Linked DNA regions of Homo sapiens: regions 2, 3 and 4 are each linked to region 1. The links are contacts of gene promoters, found by promoter capture Hi-C in blood cells and fetal thymus (Javierre and others, 2016). All regions are on one chromosome and are shown on one strand. The core of a region is centred on a gene start or on the middle of the fragment in contact, and the rest is flanking DNA. Distances in the headings are between cores, read along the strand shown. Region 1 holds the start of PPFIA4 (PPFI scaffold protein A4). Region 2 has its middle 8.5 kb from the start of CHIT1. Region 3 overlaps CHIT1 (chitinase 1). Region 4 holds the start of MYBPH (myosin binding protein H).

Evidence for each region. Contacts are between HindIII fragments. The CHiCAGO score rates a contact against its expected background, and 5 or more counts as called.
Region 2: a contact is called between a fragment that was not itself captured here and the fragment with the promoter of PPFIA4 in region 1, in 2 of 17 cell types (M2 macrophages and M1 macrophages). The highest score is 8.2, in M2 macrophages.
Region 3: a fragment that was not itself captured here is called in contact with the fragment with the promoter of PPFIA4 in region 1 in 3 of 17 cell types (M2 macrophages, M0 macrophages and megakaryocytes); the score reaches 7.0 in M2 macrophages.
Region 4: the fragment with the promoter of MYBPH here is called in contact with the fragment with the promoter of PPFIA4 in region 1 in 2 of 17 cell types (M0 macrophages and M2 macrophages); the score reaches 6.5 in M0 macrophages.

Annotation. Positions count from the first base shown.
Region 1 is chr1:203,024,536-203,028,079 of GRCh38, reverse strand. It overlaps PPFIA4 (PPFI scaffold protein A4), which reads right to left and starts at 1,589. Exons shown (of 30, transcript NM_001304331.2): 1 at 1,451-1,589. It overlaps TMEM183A (transmembrane protein 183A), which reads right to left. Exons shown (of 8, transcript NM_138391.6): 8 at 3,232-3,544. RefSeq lists an enhancer at 1,142-1,663 and a silencer at 1,490-1,799. The HindIII fragment of the contact is 10,467 bases long and covers 1-3,544 here.
Region 2 is chr1:203,236,369-203,239,912 of GRCh38, reverse strand. No RefSeq gene overlaps it. Among named protein-coding and RNA genes, the nearest start is that of CHIT1, 8.5 kb to the right of the region's middle. The HindIII fragment of the contact is 4,451 bases long and covers 1-3,544 here.
Region 3 is chr1:203,218,084-203,221,627 of GRCh38, reverse strand. It overlaps CHIT1 (chitinase 1), which reads left to right. Exons shown (of 11, transcript NM_003465.3): 8 at 1,779-1,964; 9 at 2,299-2,412. Among named protein-coding and RNA genes, the nearest start is that of CHIT1, 9.8 kb to the left of the region's middle. The HindIII fragment of the contact is 4,475 bases long and covers 1-3,544 here.
Region 4 is chr1:203,173,800-203,177,343 of GRCh38, reverse strand. MYBPH (myosin binding protein H) reads left to right here and starts at 1,518. Exons shown (of 11, transcript NM_004997.3): 1 at 1,518-1,793; 2 at 1,883-2,017; 3 at 2,747-2,914. The coding sequence starts at 1,589. RefSeq lists an enhancer at 2,854-3,383. The HindIII fragment of the contact is 10,255 bases long and covers 756-3,544 here.

The sequences.
Region 1 (3,544 bases), core at 340-2,839:
ATTCATTATCTCCTTACTTTGAGATACCGTTTACCCCACGAAGCCTCCTCAAGCCTCAGGACAAAATCTGAGAAAATAACCAAGGGAAATCATTCAAGCTGCCCTTTTGCTTAGGCAGCTTCCCTGGGACTACCTGGCCAGTTAATAGTGGTAGGGGGTGTGTAGGTTGGAGTCTAATTCAGACAGCTGTTTGAAAGCACGTGGACACAGTTCTTTCTTTTTCTAATCCAACAGCAATGTAACAGAATGGGGATGGGCGGTGAGAAGGGTGTTAACAGAATACCTGCTATGTGTGCCTCCTATGTGTACCTTTCAGCTACTCCGTGGCTGTAAATTGCCTTCAGAAGACCTAGCACCGAGCATAGTATCTGGCAGATAGTAGGTGTCCAACAAATGTTTGCTGGATGTTGAGCAAAGTACTAGGTACCAGATCCAAGAACTCTGGAAAGGACTATGGGAAATCCCTGAAACCTGGCTCCTGGAGGGGACCCTTAAGCTCACACCAGGAGGGGATCTCCCTGCGAAGCAGCGCCTCCTTAACCACTTGCTCTCCACACAGAACGGCCCCAACTCTCCTGCTCCTCTGATGGAAACTACCAGCACACCTCTCCTCAAAGGTGACATCAGCTCCTAGTGGCACCTTGTCCTGGATCCCTCCTCCTTCTCGAAGAAAACCACCTACACCATGTCTCCAAGTCCTCCAGCCCGACCTCTCTCTTCCCACCCACCATCAAAACCTCAAAATCTGCGCTGGAAAACATCCCTACTGCGTGGACGTAAGTCAGCGCCCCACTCCCACCCTCCCAGTTCAGGCATCTCTATTCCAGCCCTCTTTTCCTGTTGCGCCCACCCCTGTCCCCACCCCCACCAGGCCTCGGGTTGGCCGCTCCTTCCACCCCACCGCCCTGGCACTGCGGAGATGGGGGCATCTCTGGCACAGACTGAGGCTGGCAGTTCGAGGAATGGAGAGCTAGCGACAGGAACAGGGGTGCTATGAGCAACTCGGGAAAGATTAAGACCCCCGCGAAGAGCGAAGACCTCAGCCCATCAGAATCGCGTCCCCAAAGGAGTGGGGTTGGCCCCGGAGCCGAGAGGCGCTTTTTCTGACTCTCCTGGAGGGGAAATGGGGGCGCAGTCTGCTCCGTTCCCACCGGGAGACTCGCCAACTCGGCCCCCTCCCCTGAAGCCGATGGAGCAGAGGGCGCACTCCACGCCCTCCCCGCAGATCAGGCATCGCCCCTATCCTCACCCCCAAGGGCACAGGGCACCGCAAAGGAGGGCGAGGGGCGGCAGGGTAAGCAGTACCGACGCCTGCCGGAGGTAGCACATACGGAGTCAAAAAGGGCTGTTTCCCGAGGTGCGATAGACGAGACCCCTCCCCAAACTGTCGAGGGGAGCTGGAGATGGGGAAAAGACGCATCCTACCCCAGTCCAGGCTCTGGGCGCTCACCTGCCTGCAAATGCCGAAGGCCAGGCGGCTAGGCTCGGAAGCAGCAGGGAGCCGCCCCCGACCCGTGCAGCCCGACACGTCCTAGAGCCGAGCCGGCGCCGAGGTAGCTGCAGCCTCCGCCGCCCAAGCGCGCGGCCGCGGGGCCCCGCCCCCTTCCTCCGCGGACAACCCCCCCCGGCTCCGCCCCCTAGGCGGGGCTGGGCTGCCGCGACCGAGGCCACGCCTCCCGCCCCCAAGCGCCTCGGGTCCGGGCACGTGACGAGAGCGCCGCTTTGAGGCCGCGCGCCATCTTGGTTCAGCCTAGGAGGTGGCGAAGTGCCAGAGTTTTATTCCGCAGAAGGGTCTCAGGGCCCAGGAGTGCTGCCCACATTCTGCCCCTCCCTCTGAACTCGCCCTTGTTCCTAGTCTAACAGCCCGTTCCCTAAATTGGCCTTAGTCTCGGCCTTGTAATTGTCAAGTTTGTCACCTTTCACGCTTGCTCTCCTGCCCGTTCCTTGCTTTTCCTTTGATCGCACCCATTTTTTAAGTGGGGAAACTTGATATCCGGATACTACATCTGTAGTATGCTCTTCAGTGAATTGTGTCGCTTGCCTTCAGGCACCTGGCTGTTCTAACACTGTTACTACAAAATGAAGGGTTTGTCTATTACATATACATAGTATGAAAACAAGTCTCAAATGCCAAAATTCCTGACTGACAAATTTTAGCTAAGCCTCTCCATTTTCCTGAATTGCTCCCTTACCCTGCCCCCTGTGGCTATTAATGCATCTTTTCCATCTGCTTTGTGAAGTTTCATCACAGTGCCTACTCAATCCTTTACCAATACCCAGTAAGCACCACTAAAAGTGTGAACAATTTTTATATACATGCAATGTGTTCATGTGTGTGTATTTATAGATATATACACAGCATGTTCTATATCAGCAGCAAATGCTATAGTTGAGATCAGTGACACATACAACCTTCTCTCATTTATCTTCCACCCAATATATTCACCATTTGGCATAATTTCCTTGCGTCTCTTTGAAGACAGGGAAATCTTGAGTAATTCTGATCTGAGGGGTGGGTAAGTGAAGCTAAATCTGTGACCCTTGAACAACAGGGCCTTCAACTGCACAGGGCCAGTTGCATGCAGATTTTCTTCCTTCCCCGCCACCCCTGAGACAGCAAGACTACCCCTCCTCTTCTTACTCGTCAGCCTGCTCAACATGATGACCCACTTAATGAACAGTAAATGTATTTTCTCTTCTTTGATTTTCTTAATAACATTTTCTTTTCTCGAGCTTATTATAATAAGGTATATACTACATATACAAAATGCACATTAATCAACTGTTTATGTTATCAATAAGGCTTCCAGTCAACAGTAGGCTATTAAGTTTTCGGGCAGTCAAAAGTCATAGCAGATTTTCAACTGTGTGAGGGTCTGTGTCCATAACTCTCACAGCGTTCAAGGATCAATTTATGTTGCTTGACAGAGCAAAATCACAGTATATAACCTGTAGTCCAGAAAGTTCTAATTCTTCTTCGGGTGGTCTGGGGTCCTCACCAAAAGGAAATCCCTGAGACACTTCACATCCTGTCACTAATAAAGCATGTATCATGCTAGAAACGGCAACTCAGCCAATGCAGAGGAAGGCTGAAGCCAAGATAACGACTGGTAACACATTTTACCAAATGTTTGTCAATATTATGCTGAGAGAGAGCTGAGGCAGTATCTAGTACTGTATCTGTCACCATACCATGGAATTTGACACAAAAAACTCAGAGCTGAGTCAGAATACAATTATTAAGCCAAATTTATTTCACCCCCTTTTTAAAGGTACTCCTAAGCGGGGAACAATGCACCAAGACACTCCTGCTCCATGGCATCTTTAGTTCAGGCAACCTGGCAGGGACTGTGCTTCTCCCCTCCTGCCTCAAAGAGGCAACTTTTAATTGTAGAGATCTGCAAAGTGCTCATTGTCCTTAGGTTGTCTGTTATCACTCAAATGCCCAAATTCTGTTTTTGACTGACCCAGGCTCACTCTGTGTGAACAGTTTTAATACCACCCTCAACGTGGGATAAGGTTAGCTGTTAGCAGCAAAATTAAG
Region 2 (3,544 bases), core at 605-3,104, 210 kb before region 1:
AGCAGGCCCTGGCCCAAGGCCCCAAGCTAAAGCCCCCTGCCTTGGCATGTTTAAAACCTTGAGTGATGAGGAGTCTCAGCTTCAAAAAATGTGGGGGAAGATAAGAAAAACTGCAGGGCCCATGGTGGAGACCAAAAATTCTTCCTCCTGGTGAAAACAGGCTGAGGTGTAAATAACTCAGAGGGTTGCACCGCTCAGGGGATTTGCCTTTTGAGAAATCACTCCAGCCAAAAGCAATGCTTAACGCTGCAGGCTATAAACCCCACTGGGACAGGGACTGTGAATTCATCTCAGGGTCCCCAGTGCCTGGCAAGCACCTGTTACCTAGAAAGTGTGCAATGAATCAGCATATTAAAATTTTTTATTTACTTGTGGTAAACACTTAACATGAGATTTACCCTGTTAAATTTTGAAGTATACAATGCAATATAGCTGACTGTAGGGACAGTGTGGTCCAGCAGATCTCTAGAGCTTATTCATCTTGCTTGACTGAAATTTTATGCCCATTGATTATCATAAAGTAATTTTTAAGAATGAAAGTAATGCATTGTTAATGGGCAGAATATAGTCGTTTGAGGTTAGAAAGTCAGAATCGCTGGGAGCTGCCCACTCTGATTTCTCTGAGTTCCTTCTTTTTTTATTTTGGTCTTTCCTGTGGGGACTCTTTCCTCGAATGTCTAGTCACCAGGCTTTTGGTTCCATATGAGTCAACAGAAGCCCACTGGAAGCTCTAGAGGCTTGGTGGGCTTCTTATCCAAGGTCCCCACCTTCGGGTGATGGAGAAGAACCTGGCTGTTCTGCTGGGGGCCCTCAAATGTCATTTGAGTTTGGTAGTCTGAGTTTTGGTAACTTTTCTCTTAGGCTGGCCAGCTTTTCCTTGAGAGGAATTTTTCAGTCCTCTTACTGGGGCTCTGGGAGCCTAGCGGGGGGAAAGCCTGGAAGTTCTGAGCATCCCATGTACAGACTTTCATTTAATTCCTCAGTCCTTCTTCTCAGTCTTCAGTCTAACACCCTCCCCACCCACTACAGCCCCCACACCATCCTCTGCTGGGCCAGGTATTACTGAGTCTTCAGTCCCTCTGGACCATCCCCATATTTAATGGGGATGAAGAAGATCCAGGGGTCCAACAGGTCACCCACACTTACTGTTGTCAGCTTTAGCCCACTTGGCAACTTTCTGCTGACTCCTGCACATTTTCAGGGTCCTTTGGCCTGAGTTCTCTTTTTTCCTGTGGGCTTCCCCACCTGCAGCCTGATCACCAGACATTTGAGGAAAGAGGCCCCACATGAAAGACCAAGGTTTCAGCTTTTTCAGGTCTGTGAAGCCTGTTTCACCTGTTCATTCTGTTGTCACAAACAGTTTCACCTGTTCATTCTGTTTTCACCTTCCAAACATTTGTTGGCATCTCTTATCTATTTTAATTTCCTCTTCTGTTTGCTTTGTCCTAGTAGATTTATACCATTTTATTCCTTTAACTGTGATTTCAAGGGATTTCAGGAGAGAGTGGAGATAAATACCTATGCTCAATCTGCCACACGAAATGGGTACACCTTGCTTTTTTCCTTTAACAATATATTGAGGACATTTTTGTTTCATTTTAATGACGTATGGAATTTCAGGCTCCAGTTGGTGACACTTAAGGCAGTTTTAGGTTTATGCTATTTTAAGAAATGCTGCAATGGGACATTATTATTGTACAACAATAATTATGTGTAGAAATAAAGAAAGGAGAGAAAAAAGAGAGGGACAGAGAGAAAGGGGGTGAGACAGAGAGAAGGAGGTGGGGAGGAGGGAAGGAGTCCATGCAGAATGTCAGGTATCTGAAGACAGCAGGTCAGGGAGAGGTGTAGGGGTCTGAATGGGTTGTACTTCCAGTCCTGGCCCATATCATGACCTAGGCCTGACTCTCCCCTTCTAGTTCTACTGCCCACTACATGCCAACTGCTTCAGGCTCAAACCTGTTAATGGTGAAAGAAACAACTACCACTGGGATATGGTCCACTGGAAACAGGAAACAGGCTGATGTTTAGACATGCAAGGCCAGAATCCACGTGGCCAGAGAGGATTCAAGGTGCTTTCTGTCCCCAGAGAGTGCCCTGACTCCAGGATATGAGTTTCACCATGACTGAAGCCCACACCAGCCTGCAGCCACTAGCTCCACCTCTGCCTGGGAGCCAGGCCTGTCCAAAGATAACCAAATGGAAAGGGAAGAACCTGGAAACCTCCACTTTAGCTCTGGAAGGCTTGCAAATTCCCTGGCTTCTCTTTCTTCCACTGCAATATGGGGAGCATAGCTTCTGCTAATACATTAAGAGGTCTTAAGGGGTGGTATGCACTTCTCACATCAACCAGCTTCTTACTAAGCACTTGACGTTGAGTTACAAGGGATGTTGAAGGAATAGTATTCAATAATCAACTCATTCAACAGATGTCTATTGAGGTCAGTTCTTTATACAGGCACCTGGTTTTTGGTGCACAGCAATGAACAAAGAGACACGGTCACTGCTCTTGGGGCTTCCAGTCTAGAGAGAGTTACAGACATTAAATACGTAAGCTCACAAAATAAATATGTAATTGCAAATTAGGATAAGGTCTGGGGAGGAAAAATAAACACCTTTTCAGGAGAGAGTAGCAGAACTGCCCTGCCATGGAGAAATACGCAGATATAGGGAAGCCTCTTCAGGAGGTGACAGCAGAGACCAGCCCTGGAGGATGAGAATGAGAAGGAGAACACATCCCAGGCAAAGGGTGCTGTGCCAAGACCCTGAGATTGGAAAAGGCTTGACACACTCACGTTCATGAAATAGAACTGGGGTGCTCAGGGTGGCGTGACCAGCACAAGGCTGAGAGGTAGGCGGGTGGCCTAATGGAAAAACACACAAACTGACTGTATTCTACTATTCTCACACTCACTCTCCATACTTCATTTCTGAGACCAGAGGTGTGGGGATTTCTCTCCACACCCAAACAACTCTCCAGCAGACACCAACAGGGTATCCTATAATTTAATTCCATTCTGACACTATCCATCTGGAGTGAGTCAGATCTACAGGCTGAGGGCTCAGTCCCACAAGGCTGCCCCCACTTCAGAGGCCAATCACAAGTCCCAGGTGGTGAGCTGTGCTTCAATCAAGCAGCTAAAAACTGGGGTTCCCATGACGCCCTTCCTCTGCTCTTCCTCTGCTAGAGCAGCTCACAGAACTCACAAAAACACTTACTTACATTGACCCATTGATTTAAAGGATATTACAAAGGATACAGAGGAGCAGCCAGATGGAAGAGATGCATAGTGCGAGGAAGATGGGAAGGGGCTTGGAGCTGCTCTCCTCTCTCCATGTGTTCAGTAGCCTTGAAGCTCTTTAAACCCCATGGATCATGGATTTTGTTTGTTTGTTTGTTTGTTTGTTTGTCTGTAGAAAGGGGGTCTCACTAGGTTGAGACCTAGTTGTTCAGGAGGTCAAGGTTGTTCAGGCTGGTCTCAAACTCCTGAACTCAAGAAATCCTCCTGCCTCTGCACCCCAAAGTGCTGGGATTTCAGGCATA
Region 3 (3,544 bases), core at 537-3,036, 190 kb before region 1:
TTCTTAAGAGACAGAATCTTGTTCTGTCACCAAGGAGGGTATGCAGTGGCATGATCATAGCTCACTGCAGCTTCATCCTCCCAGGCTTAAGCGATCCTCCTGCCCCAGCCTCCTGAGTAACTGGGATCACTATGACCAGCTAATTTTTTTTAAGTTTGTAGAGATGGAGTCTTGCTATATTGCCCAGGATGGTCTCAAACTCCTGCCCTCAATCAATCCTCCTGGCTCAGCCTCCCAAAGTGTTGGAATTATAGGCACAAGCCAACATGCCCAGCCTAGATCCTTTTTATAAGCCCTCTATATATCTTAAAATATAGAGAGGGTTTATAAAACCCTGCAGAGAGGGCTTATAATAACTACATTATTTTTCTTTCTTAAAACAAGCAAAACCAAACAACAAAGAAAAAGCCCTAAATTAAAATGCTTTTTACTTTTGGAGAGCCCACATCTCTGTATGTCAGCTGGAGTGGGACATCTTTGATTTTCTGGCTCTTTCATGAATAAAGAGCACCTCTTTGAGCCAGTGAGCCAGGCACCCACATTTCACACTGAGCCTGGCCTCTCCATCCCTGTCTGGAAGACTGTGTGAGTTTTGGAGGAAGCTGTATCCCTGTGCTGGTGGGGAGACACAGAAAGAAATTTAGCTGAGAGGTGAGTGGGGTGGGAGTCCCTCCAGCACCCTGCTTTCCACATTGTGTACCTTGAATCCACCGAGGAATGGAGGCCATCTTATTCCTACAAAGAGGCCTTCTACTCACCACACAGTGTGCCCGGGGACAGGTTCTAACCAGATGGGTGACTTTTCCCAACTTGCACAAAAGTGCTATAACAGATCAGGAGAAGCCCCGACTTCTGCCTTCAGAAAGCACCCATCTGATCAAAGATAAGTTGTATAGATGGACAAAAAGAAATATATTTAAATAAATGTAGTGAAAGCTGTTCTTTACCTAAGTGCTAAGTGGGCTCAGAGTAACTAGACCTGACAAAACTAGGGCAGCTTCTGGGGGAAAGTGAACCATACTCTTGGCTTAAGGAATGAGGCTTCATTATTCATTAATTTATCATACTTGTACCGGGTACCTTCTCCCGTCACAGGCCTGGGGGTGTTACACCAAGTAATATATAATCAGGGGAAGGCCTTATTCAAAGGTGGGTAAGGAAGCCTTTGTTCTATCTGAGCATCAGGTGTCATTCTAGACACTGAGGATACAGAGATAAATAAAGCAGACCCAATTCCCTGCTTTTGTACTCAGGGTAAAACTAAGACAACAATCATGATAACGATGATGACCACAGCGACCCTTTATTGCGTTGTGCTGACCTTTTACATGCATTATAACCTTTAATTCTCACAATGCCCTAAGAGATGGATATTTTCCTTATTTCCATGTTACAGACAGAACACCAAGGTTCAGTGAGGTTAAATAAGCTGCTGGGTAAGGCAGGGATCTGTGTCTGCCTTGTTCACTGATGTGTCTGAAGCACCATGGACAGCGCCTGGCACACAGTGGGCCATCAGTACACATTTGTTCAGTGAATGGTTGTCTGCGTCCGAAGCCCACGCTCTCTGGTTATCATGCCATGCAGCTTCTTCACTGGGGTCACGGGTCTAAGGCAGGCTCTAAAGAAGATGGGGTAGGGCTGGAATCCTAACAAAGGCCCGTAGAGCTCCAGCTGAGGAGCCCCTGCCCTCCTAGCTCTGCCTCTGGATCCCCCAGACTTAGATAATCAGAACCAGGCTGAGGGCTGAGAAAATTAACCCTGCCCTCTTCCACCAGGATGCTGCTGTGCAACAGTGGCTGCAGAAGGGGACCCCTGCCAGCAAGCTGATCCTTGGCATGCCTACCTACGGACGCTCCTTCACACTGGCCTCCTCATCAGACACCAGAGTGGGGGCCCCAGCCACAGGGTCTGGCACTCCAGGCCCCTTCACCAAGGAAGGAGGGATGCTGGCCTACTATGAAGTAGGAAAACCCATAACCACCCTGGGTATTGTGAGGGTCAGGGGGTGCCTGAGAGAACAGAGGTTTCCTTCTCCCACCGTTTCTGAGTAAGGATGCCAATTGCAGAGAATTCTGGCCATGTAAATTCCATCTCATCCATGCCATCTTGAATTTATCCTTAAGCCCAGGTGCCTCAAGCTGAGTCCAGAATTCTAGGTCACTGCAAAGAACCTCCTGATTCTCCAGGCTTCCTCAGACAGGAATTTTCCAATCTCTAGTCTCCTCCTGGTGAGGAAGGGAAGGTGCCTGCAAGAGCCTCCCTCCTCCTCCCCAGTGCTGCCTTCTGCTCCCACAGGTCTGCTCCTGGAAGGGGGCCACCAAACAGAGAATCCAGGATCAGAAGGTGCCCTACATCTTCCGGGACAACCAGTGGGTGGGCTTTGATGATGTGGAGAGCTTCAAAACCAAGGTGAGGCCCAGCTCTGCTGGCAGAGGGGTGGTCCTAGTGAACAAGTCCTGTCAATGACATGGAATGAGGACAGTTCAGGACCTCAAGGGTGAGTCTCCTTTAAATGTCCCAACATTTCATAAATCTCCACGTGATAGTATTTTGTACCTTTACTACCTATTGACTCAGAAAAGACAAAATGACAAAAAATTGCTCTACATTTAGTAGCACTCTGGAAAGTATTTCTATTTTATTAAATACCATACAAATTCTACAGACATATGAAGAGGAGAAATACACATGGTGAGACATATAGCTTTCTTCAGCCCATTGGCAATATCTGGTGCATGTCCAAATTACAGACCTTTTGCTTTACTTATAGGACCCCCTTCTCCTGCCCAATATTGGTGCATTTACCTGGTTTCATGCCATTTTCCCCTGTGAAACTGTTAGCTCCTGAAGACGGATGCTTCACTAGTTTATCTGTACATCCCACATCAACTATCATGTGTGGCTGACAGCGGCAGCTTCTAGAGGTGGACAATTGCAGGGGGGCACGATCCTGGCTGGGGAGATGGGAGAAGGGGTCACGGTGGAAGGGTATTTCAGATAAGTCCTAAAGCATAGAAGGTGGCCATTCTTAGGGGTGAGGGAGCGGGCAACTGCACAAGCAAAGACGCGGGTGCAGAGAAAGTAAAGGCTGGACTCTGAAAACAAAGTGTAGGCCCACATAGCTGGACCCCCAAGCAGGGCAGGTAGAGGAAGGGAGCTAGCTGAAAGGGAGGCTGGGGCCAGCAAGGGATCAAGCACCATGGCCCCCTGGCAGGGTTAGAGGACAGAGAATCCCACTCTGAGGGAACACACAGTCATACCCTCAGGAAGCCTCAGGAATCTGGTGGAGGGAAGATGGCTCTCAGGGAAGACAAAGACATGAAGACAGAGAAGCAAGCCTTGATTGAGATCTTTTGGAAATCTGAGTTGTTCCCTATGGTAACTGGACTTACCTTGACCTTGACCTTGACCAGCATACAATACCCTTAAATAAAGCAGCTCAGCCCACACATGACCAAGCGGTGAAGGGTTCCCACTTAGGGAGGTGCACACAACTGACACTATTCCTCCCGACTGCACCCACCCCACCCCAGGTCATGCT
Region 4 (3,544 bases), core at 269-2,768, 150 kb before region 1:
TTTGAAGAATAACTATGTAGTAAGAACCTGTGTAACCACCACCCAGGTCAGGAAAGGAAACCTCATTAGCACCCCTGCAGCCCTCACGATCACAGATATCCCTGTTCCTCCACCTAGAGGCAATCGCCATCCTAACTTTTGTACTGGCCTCATCTTCCTTTCTGGCCTTACCGCCTACGGATGTACCTTGAAGAAGGGAGCCTGGTGTTGACTGCATTTGGATTTAATGTAGATGAGACAGATGAGACGCAACATTTCTGTGTGCCTTGCTCTTCTGCTCATCACTGGGTCTGTGAGTAGCTGAAGTTGCTCATTTGACCCCATATTTTGCTTTACAGTTGCATAAACACTCCACAGTTATTTATCCATCCCACTGTTGAGGGACAGCTGTTTTCCCCCACATTTCAACAATTACAAATAACATTGCCATGAACCTTCTTCTCCATGTCTCCTGGGGCATGTGTGGGTGTTATATGAGCGGCACGGCTGGGTCACGGAGTAGGCACCTCATCCATTTTACTAGGCACTAGTAAAACTCTCACATTTTCCAGAGTGACTGCTCCAATACCAGCAATAAAAGTTCTTAATGTTCTCCCTCCTTCCTGACACATGGCATTTTCTGGCTTTCCAGTGATTCCCAGTCTTAACATTTTATCGAACAAATGAATCAATGACTAGAAATCTGGCCATATCTGCCTCCTTTGGCACACTGAGAAAGCCCATGCCCACAGCCTGCTTGGAAGAGTCTAGAAGCTTCAGAGTGCTCTCCTCCACTAGGGCATCTTCCAGATCTGCCTACAACTGCAACCCATCCCGAAGGGCGAGGGGTTCTCTGTAACAGGTGGAAAACTGAGGCCCACAGCAGGCATCAGGGGAGACGAGCTCCTTACCAGCCGCCCAACTGAGACAGGAGCCAGGAGACTTAGTGCCCCTTCCTGGGGTTCCAATGCTGGAGGACCATCCTCTGAGCAGCTCCACCCTCAGCATCTCAATTCCCTCCCTCTCTAGGGCCCTCAGCCTCATACAGCACAGGCGAGAGTCCCTGGGAACTGTGGGAGCCCAGGGAATGTGGACCCCAGAGGCAAAGCTGGGAGTGCTCACAAGGACGATTGTCCCAAACTGTCAGGGCCCCAGCACCCAGTCTGAGAAGCTCTGGGAACAAGTGGCCCCATAGACGCCAGACACACAGAGCCTGAGCTGGGCTCATTCTCCAGATAGAAGTTCTTCCTCCTATTGCCCTGACACCTGGCACGCGGCCTGCTCGATGTCCCATCTCACCCATCTGCGCCCTCCCCCAGCTGGGCACCAGCACCCTGGCTGTTGAAGGCCAGTCGGGGAGATGGATGAGGAAGTGACTCCTCAAGGGGCCCTTGTGGTTCCTCCCCCAGAGCTATTCCTGGCCTGGGCGCCTCTCCACCCTCCAGTCCTCCTGCTTGACCTGACCCCACAGCTGGGAATCGTTTGCTGGGGGTGGGGCAGCCCCTGACTATATAAGCCTGGACCTAGGTGTCCCAGGCACCCTAGAGGCCCAGGCCCCCCAACGGCTGACCCCTGCACACTCCACCCTGGCCCCCCAGCCAGTCCAGCAATGATGGAAAAAAACACCTCCGAGGGCCCTGCCTGCAGTCCAGAGGAGACCGCATCTGAATCTGCCAAGGTGCCCACAGCAGAGCCTCCCGGAGAAGTGGCAGTATCAGAGTCCACCAGAGAAGAGCAGGTGCCCAAGCCGCAGGCCCCTGCCCCACAGGCCCCTACAGCCTCCACAGCCACTAAGCCTGCACCCCCAAGTGAAGGTGACTGAAGGTGGGGCAGGGGGAGGAGGGAGGCAGGCATGTCAGGGGTGGAGGGGAGCTCTTGGCCATGAACCTCTTCATCTCCCCAGATGTCCCCAGTGCCCCACTGCTGCTGACCCTGGATGATGTGAGCAGCAGCTCTGTGACTGTGAGCTGGGAGCCCCCAGAGAGGCTGGGGAGGCTGGGCCTCCAGGGCTATGTGCTGGAGCTCTGCAGAGAGGGAGGTGAGTGCTGGGCTAAGTCTTGCATACACCCAGGGGAGGTTGTCATGGAGGGCTGCAGGGACAAGTGCACAGGCCCTGTGGTTGGTCAGTCTGGGAGAGATACAGAAGGAGGGGATGCGAGCAGTAGGCTCCTCAACCCACCCACCTGCCCTTTCTTGCTCCACCAGCAGGAGAGCAAGAAAGGGTAGGTGGGTGGGTTGAGGGGCTCCCTTGTCCTCAGCTCCAAGGAGCTTCTGAGTAAGGGAAGGGTAAGGGGACACTGGGTTCTCCTTTGGTGAGAAGGGAAGGAAGTGCTAAGTCTCAGAGGACCCCGAACTGTAGGAAGTGGAAAGGGAGGAGCTGGAGAGGGGAATGTTAGCGTAAGAGACAGTGAGGAGAAAGCGGGAATGGGGTGGGGGTGTGGGGGCCACATCCCTGCTGCCACTGTCCCCCTCCATGGCCCAAGTCCAGCCTGGCCTCTGCCTCTGCCCCTACCTTGCTGTGTGACTTTGCAAATGTGTCCAACCCTCTCTGGGCTTCAACAACCTCATCTCTAGCCACAATTTCAGGGCTCTAACATCAGGTGTCTTTGATGCCATTTGACAAGAAGTCAGGGAAGGCAAACAAGGGGAAAATGAGGCCCAGAGAGGGAGGCTGATTTCCCCAGATCACCAGCAGGAAAAGAAGCCCCATGGAGAGGGGCGCCTGTGGCCACATTGCAAAGACCTCACACTCTCTCCATCCCCTCAGCCTCGGAGTGGGTGCCTGTGAGTGCCCGGCCCATGATGGTGACCCAGCAGACTGTGCGGAACCTGGCTCTGGGAGACAAGTTCCTCCTGCGCGTGTCTGCAGTGAGTTCTGCAGGGGCTGGCCCGCCGGCCATGCTGGACCAGCCCATCCACATCCGAGAGAACATTGGTAAAGCCCATCCTGGCCTTCAGCTACCCAGCCCTTCCCAAACACCTTATCTAATGGAGAAACTGAGGCCAGCAGGTAGAGGGAACCAGGCAGTCATTTCCCCCGTCCCACGCTCACATGCACAAGCCACACGCTATCACCATCTTGCCTTAAGAAAGTTCCAGGTTCCTCAGCAGTAAGGGGCCTCTGGAGGTCTAAGAAGCCATTTCCCTGAGTGGTCCAGCCCCCACGCCTTGAGAAAGGGGCTCAGAAACAAAAGGTCAAGTTCCCTGGGTCACCTGCTCAATGCTAAGAGTCCATCTGTTCTATCTCCCATCTAATCTCAATCTCTCCAGTGGCCATAAATGCTCATTTTCTGCCCATTTCCTGTGGCCTGGGTTCCAGATTCTCTCAAAGGTCTTGAAACAGAGAGAAGGCGCTGCTTGCCCCTTGTTCCACCATGGCCCTAGTGGAAAGAAAAAGAAGGTCTGCAAAAGGCCCATGAAGACTTCTCCATTGCAGAGGGCATACCTCACTGGGGCCCCGCAGGCCAGCTGCCATCCCCATTGCTAATATTTCTATTTGCAAGGTGCATTAGCCTCAATCCTCCCCTCGCTCCCCTCCCGGAGCTGATCGGGTTTCAGTCTGTTA